Linked DNA regions of Homo sapiens: region 2 is linked to region 1. Evidence: promoter capture Hi-C in human tissues and cell types (Jung and others, 2019). All regions are on one chromosome and are shown on one strand. Each heading gives the region's core, a stretch centred on a gene start or on the middle of the fragment in contact. The rest is flanking DNA. Distances are from core to core; before and after follow the strand shown. Region 1 holds the start of TFPI2 (tissue factor pathway inhibitor 2). Region 2 has its middle 120 kb from the start of BET1.

Region 1 (3,505 bases), core at 252-2,751:
TTAGTCAAAAGTAGCCTTCTTATTAAACCATCACTGTATTTTCAGCAACATTTTGTGGGGGGAGAGAAGTTGTATTAGTGTTGGGATAGTAAATACCCAGAATACTCCCATGAATCCAGATATTTACTTTTTTTTTTTCTAACAGTGTATTCAGAGCTGACTCAGCTGTGATGTATCTTTCAAGTTCAGTAGAAAGACTCTCTGTTTTCTCTGGGTGTTCTCTGATTGTACATATGCAGTGAATCAAAGCTTATTCACATGAATACGCATTTTCCCCTGGCTCAGTTCCTTGAATGGAAAAGCCCCATGTTCTCTTACAGGCCTTAACCGATATAATTTAAAAATTAAAAATAAATTAAAATATAACAGTATTATGAATCTCCACCATGTCCCGCAACTAATCCAACACATGTTTGGGTATCGGGACAAAAGTAGAGTTATATAATGAGCTAAGTCACACTTCAATAATAAAATCCACTAAAAATATTTCAGATTGATGGATAATCGACAGAAGGAAATGATGTACTCCAGGAGAGATAAAAATCATAGGTTTGGAATTAATGAAAAATACAGAGAAGCACTTACGTTGTACCTAACACGTTATTCTCTTGCATTTATTATACCCCATGGTGAGGGAACAAATCTTTCCCTGAGTCCGCACAGGCACTGAATTATGATCAATGTCAGTTGGGAGACAGGAAATGTGTTAGTGGTTGTAAATTTGTGATTACTTTTAAGAAACTGAAAACCATGAGGTTTGCTTAACACTTGAGAAAACCCAGGCTAAAACTTCCTGTAGAAAGCGAGACGTGGGAAACTGGCGAAGCTGCTACCAGCCGCCGGCGCAAGGAGCGCGAGAGTCCTGGGTGCGCGCAGGGCACTTACTTTCTATCCTCCAGCAAGCATCGTCGCAAGCCTCCCAGGTGTAGAAATTGTTGGCGTTGCCCTCGCAGCCCCCGTACAGGAACTGGCGGCAGCTCTGCGTGTACCTGTCGTAGTAGTAACGGAGAAGTAGGGCCCGGCAGGGTCCGTAGTCTAGGGGCAGGAGACAGATCTCCGCGTTATTTCCTGAAGAAGGGGCAGAAGGAGAGCAAAAGAGAGGGAAAGTGGTCAGGCGTAGCTCCTAGGAGGAAAGAACATCCCGGGGAGTTCTGTCCCCTTCCGAGCGGAGGGGCCTCTGCAGAGAAAGTGCAAACTTGGGAGCGAGTCCCCCCTGCCAGCGGAGCGCGCGGCAGGGACCTGGAGAAAGCGAGGCTTGGAGGGCGCCTACACGGGGCCCCATGGCCCGCTGCGCCCTCTCCGCCGGTTGGGGAGAGAAGCTCCTGGAGCGGCCAGATACCTGTTGGCTCCTGAGCAGCATCGCCCAGTGCAGCCTCCGTCAGGAAAAGCAGCAGAATCGACAGCCCCAGGGGGCGAGCGGGGTCCATGGTGCAGGGGGTCGGGCGGCCCGCTGGGCAAGGCGTCCGAGAAAGCGCCTGGCGGGAGGAGGTGCGCGGCTTTCTGCTCCAGGCGGCCCGGGTGCCCGCTTTATGCGGGGCGAGCGTCCGGCCGACCCCCGCCGGGGCGGAGCCTGAGGGGTGGCTGATTCATGCACGGGGACTGTCACCCCGCCGCCCCCGCGCTGCAAACTGTGTAAGAGGGAGAGGAATTCCCCGCCAAGTTGAAAAGTTGAACCTGCCTCCCAAACTTTCTCCTGTAGTCCAGACGGGGACGCCCTGAGGGAGCGTTTGTGTCAGTAATGGGAAATCTGCAAGCTAGACGGAAATGACCTGCTAGTGATTGCGCTGTAAAGAAGCCGGAATCCACCTCTTGAAGGCATGAAGTTCAGGTATTTGAAAGGCTGGTGGAGAGAAAGTGCGGAGTTCTTGGGTCAGAGCGGAGCGGGATTCGTTGCAATGGACCTTCAGATTAGATTAGAAATGTAAATAAGTGTATATTTATATTTATACACACAGATTTCAATCGAGTTCTAATTTACATTTAATACAGGCTTATAATATATCGTAGGTGGACAGTTTGATAAATTTTGACAACTGTGTAGCCACCAATAAAGAATTAGAACATTTTGGCTGGGCGCGGTAGCTCGCGCCTGTAATCCCAGCACTTTGGGAGGCCAAGGCGGGTGGATCACCTGAAATCAGGAGTTCGAGACTAGCCTGGCCAACATGGCGAAACCCCGTCTCTATTAAAAACACAAAAAATTAGCCGGGCGTGGTGGCGGGCACCTGTAGTCCCAGCCCCTCGGGAGGCTGAGGCAGGAGAATGGCTTGAACCCAGGAGGCGGAGGCTGCAGTGAGCCCAGATGGCGCCACTGCACTCCAGTCTGGGCGGCAGAGTGGAACTCCGTCTCGAAACGAAGAAAAAGAAGAAGAAGAAGAAAAAAAAAAGAGTTAGAACATTTCCATCACTCCAGAAAGCTCCTGCAGACTTTTTCCTAAATCAATCCTTCCATCCTTAGGCCAGGGGCAAACACTCTTCTCATTTCGATTACCATAGATTAGATTTGCCTATTCTTGAATTTCATATAAACGGAATTATAAAGTATTCACTGTGTAGTATTTCTTTCTCACACTTCCTGTTTTTGAGATACGCCCAGGTCACTGCATCAATAGTCTGTTTCTTTTAATTCCTGCGTAGTCCAAGGTATGAATTTACCAAAACGTATGAATATCCCACAATGTATAAATATGTTGCTGTGTGTATCAATAGTCTGTTCCTTTAAATCATTGAGTAATATTCTAATATATCACAAATGTCTTATTACTGGAATTTGTGTTGTTTCTAGTTTGTTTGGGGGCTCTTATGAAAAAAGCTGCTTTGTGTGGACCTGCAATTTTTATTACTCTTGGATAAAATACTTAGAAATGTTAGACACTGCCAAAGGATTTTTTCAAGATGATTGTACCATTTTACACCCCAACCAAGCATGTATGAAGCTATGTTTTTGTATGTATCTATGTTTTTGGAGAAGAACCATAGCAGCCCAGAGAGATAGCCTTGGGGAGTTCTGAAGATTTGACCAGATCAGTGTATTCCCACACATTTCCTAATGTCAGTGCATCCATTAAAGTTCCCTGTTCCTTTGACATATTAGCTTGTGATCCACTTTTTTTTTTAATACAAACAATTACCTACAGTGAAATTTTACATAAAATATTAAAGATATTTTTGAAGACATTTTAATATACTTGTCTTCCCTTCCCCTTTTCTCTTGTTGTATTCAACATTCTCAAGTAAATAATTATTCTTGACTTCTGAGGATACTGGGGGTAGTTTACAGAAGTTCTCTTTCAAGTTTTCAGGAAGCCCTGAAAAGTATAGGACACACTTGCTCAAAGTGGGTTAATAATCTGAGGTATTTTGCACATTATATCCTTGTGCCAGTTTTCAGTCATTCTGATGTCATGTTACAAGGTCACAGTCCTAGGAAAACCAGCCTGATCTGGAAATGCTGTCAGCTTTGATTAGCAGATGTCTATGATTAAGAATGATAGTTGAAACTATA
Region 2 (3,484 bases), core at 910-3,409, 240 kb after region 1:
TTCTATTTTAGAGAAGAATTGAATTTTTTTGTTTTTCAAATGGCACATTATAAACATCACTTAGAGCATTTCCTTATTCAGTTGTGTGCAACTAATAGTTTCTTCAAGTTAGTTAGGTGATTGCTAGCAATTAATTAGTAGGGTTAACATTGTTTTTATTGATCAGCCTGGCAGTAATGATTGACAACATTAATATAATTGCTTTACTTCTCAGAAAACCTTTGTGTAAGAACCTAATAGTACTGAGGAAACAGTTGTGAGATAAAGAAAAATAGATTGTATGCTTTAGAGTGGGCCAATTGTGTTAACATGCTGCCAGGGCTTTGATAACTGAATTAATGGCCAAGGCTCCCTTTCCTTAGGTAGCTAAGAGCTTATTTTTCTGTTCTTCCCCTATACCTAGCCTGACCATGAATCTTCACAGACACCAGAAGAGCCAGAAGAGAAGTGGTTCTGTGATTTTAGGTACAACCCCTACCTCACTGTTTCAATTATACTCATGATCAGCACATAAGGAAATCGTTTATAACCAAATTTGAAAACCCAAAGTTCAGTGGATAAGTTTAACATCTTTTGTGAGAAATCAGAGACCAAAAGGAAAAGGAGGACAGCCTACTCTCCTTTCTACCTCTCTAAAGTTCCAAGGAAATTGCATCTGTTCTCCTCTATCTGTCAGATGTGGAACTAATACTGGTGATGTCCCAGAACAATTCTGGGTCTGCCTACAGTGTTATTCCCAAAGATATCCCAAAGAGCTCCTAGAAAATAAAGACAAAGCCTAAGGATCAGATACATCTTGAGACTGATAGAGAATTCCAGAAGTTTCTCTCCTTCAGTACTTTATTGTAGTGGACCTATGCCTGCAAAATGACTTGTCCTTTGTTGTACCTAACCTACTCCTTCTAAATGACTAAGTTAACTCTTTAATAATTACCAAAGCTGGCAAAGTTTTTTAAAATAGCTTTTCTTCTGGTTCAAATAACGAGGGAAAAAGCACAAGTTTTGTTTGAATATTTGCTCACGATGATCTGTAACTATTCTAATGTTCAAATAAATATTTCAAGCTACTTATGACAAACATATAATTGCAGATCCCTTTCCAGTAAGGATAAGCATCACCACTTACTGAGTTCCAGATAGTTTTCAAGGTAGATTGAATATGTTATCATCAATTCTTACAACAACTTGGGAAATTGTAGCCCAGTTTAACGGATGAGGAAACTAATTGATAGGATACATTACTAGTACAAGATCACGCTGGTAATAAGAGGCAAAACTCAGATCTCACTTGTTCCAAATCCTGTGTCCTTTGTGCTACAGCAGACTTCCTCTTTGCAGAACTCCCCAGATTCCATTTAATCTTCCTGCTCAAAGGTGTCATTACTTTTACTATGATAACTGTTATGGATTTGGGATTGCTGCTGGTGGTAGTGCTATCAAACAGAAAAGTAGTAAGGTGGTGAAGATCACAGATACCATGTCAGCCTCTCTGGGTCTGAATCTTGGCTCCACCCTTTGCTGTCTGAGTGTCCTTACGTATGTAACTCAACTTAGTGCCTTTATTTCCCCCTCTTTAAAATGGAAATAATAATAGCACCACCTCAAATGGCTGTTGCAAGAATTAAATGAATGAATTCACTGCTTCTCAAACATCAGTATGCATCCGAATGGCCTGGGAATCTGGTAAACCTGTGGATCCTGACTCCAAGAGCTAGAGTGGAGCCTGAGATTTTGCATGCAGGATACTTAGGACAGTGGCTGACATGGAATGAGTTTTCAATAAATGTCATGTATGATCATTTAATGATCAGATAAGGGAAGGTCTGTTGGAGAAAATATTAATTTCACACATTCAAATAAATTTTTGAGATAATGATGATTTAAGAGATCCTGTACTGTGCAAGCCAGCCCACCATGCCAGACCTTCTACTGGGTTTCACCTTTGCATGACTGAGGAGTCAAGTACAGGTCACCTTTTTTGTTACTGGAAATGGTATAATTTTCAAAATGCAGTTGGAAGGAATGTGGCTCACAGTGATGTAGCCCCCTAAAGAGCAATTTTTTTATTGAACAAATATTTATGGAGTATGTGTCAGGTATCAAACCAGGCACTGGGAATACTTGGCCATGCCATCATTTTAAGCTTTTCCTCCATAGAAAATGTAGCATATATCCCCTAACACTAATTGGAAACTAACTAGTTGCAAAGTGGGTGTTACAGGGAATATCAGTCCTTCCCCTAAATCTGTGTTCCTTTTCACTTATCTATCATTTTCTATTTATTTCCCCACTTTCAATCTGTTTAAGTACAGCCCTCCTCTGGACAATTCCTGAGCATATTCACTGTCTTATCCACCACACACATTTTACAGTATTGAGTTCATATATAATATACAGCTTTTAGCATTGTGTACTGGAAAAAATAATTAACAATTAACTATAATTTATTTACATGTCCTACATTGTTTTCAAAATTTTCCTATACTGCCACAAAAGAAAATTTTTCTTGTTCATGTACCTTACATATTTGTGAGGAGGACTTGTAGACACAATAACCTAAATTCAATCTTTAAAACAAAGGACTATTTTATAACCGTGTTTAATTCTATGATGTAAAGGCAGAGTTAGAATCTCAGCTGAAAGCAAAATCCCAGGACATTTGGCTAGACATATGCCTTTTTTATGAAACATATCTATATTAACATAATTTGCACACTTGTACATGTCTATCTTATATCAGCTTAATCCTTATGGACATCATTCTCATATTCTCCCTTAGGAGGTAGTAGTAATGGTTTCACATGTTAGAAAACTCAACTTGCTAACAGCATTCCTAGGATTTTCCCTTTTGCTGTAAAGCTACAGATTTTTGGCATTTGTTCTGCTAAATGCTCAAAAGAATAAAACAGAAAGCAGTTGTTCTTAATTAAACCTATTTGAGTCACAGATCCCTTTGAGCATCTGATGAGTTTATGGATCCTTTCTCCAGAAAAATAACCACATGCACATACTTGGAGATTCCAGGTATAATTTCAGTAGTTTTATAGACTCCCCAAAGTACATCCATCCAATGACCTTAGGTTGAGAGTGCCTATTGTAAGAGCTCTCCAGCCTGTCTATAAACATCAGCGTATATTACAGCAGAACCCTTTCCTCTGAGCCATTTACATTGAGAAGGTGGGAAGCAGTTAGGCACCCAGGTACTTTTGAATGAAGATGGAGTCTCATGTTACCTATCAAACACAAGCCCCAAAGCTGTAATTGACATAAGAACCTAACTTATATGATCTGACATCATGGTGCTGTGACCCATGGAACAGTTTTCAAGGAAAAAACTGGGCCGGGCCAGTTTTCAAGGAAAAAAAGAGTGGGCTGGGCGCAGTGGCTCATGCCTGTAATCCCAGCACTTTGGGAGGCTGAGGTGGGCGGATCACCTGAGGTCGGGAGTTCGACACCAGCCTGACCAGCATGGAGAAACCCTGTC

Evidence for each region. The method cuts DNA at HindIII sites, captures the fragments that hold promoters and counts their contacts. A contact is called where the count stands out against the background at its distance.
Region 2: a contact is called between a fragment that was not itself captured here and the fragment with the promoter of TFPI2 in region 1, in 1 of the 25 tissues and cell types used here (H1 embryonic stem cells).

The regions. Positions count from the first base shown.
Region 1 is chr7:93,889,252-93,892,756 of GRCh38, forward strand. TFPI2 (tissue factor pathway inhibitor 2) reads right to left here and starts at 1,502. Exons shown (of 5, transcript NM_006528.4): 1 at 1,340-1,502; 2 at 886-1,068. The coding sequence starts at 1,427. TFPI2-DT (TFPI2 divergent transcript) reads left to right here and starts at 1,643. Exons shown (of 2, transcript NR_134235.1): 1 at 1,643-1,828. The HindIII fragment of the contact is 8,158 bases long and covers 1-3,505 here.
Region 2 is chr7:94,124,326-94,127,809 of GRCh38, forward strand. No RefSeq gene overlaps it. Among named protein-coding and RNA genes, the nearest start is that of BET1, 120 kb to the left of the region's middle. The HindIII fragment of the contact is 3,985 bases long and covers 168-3,484 here.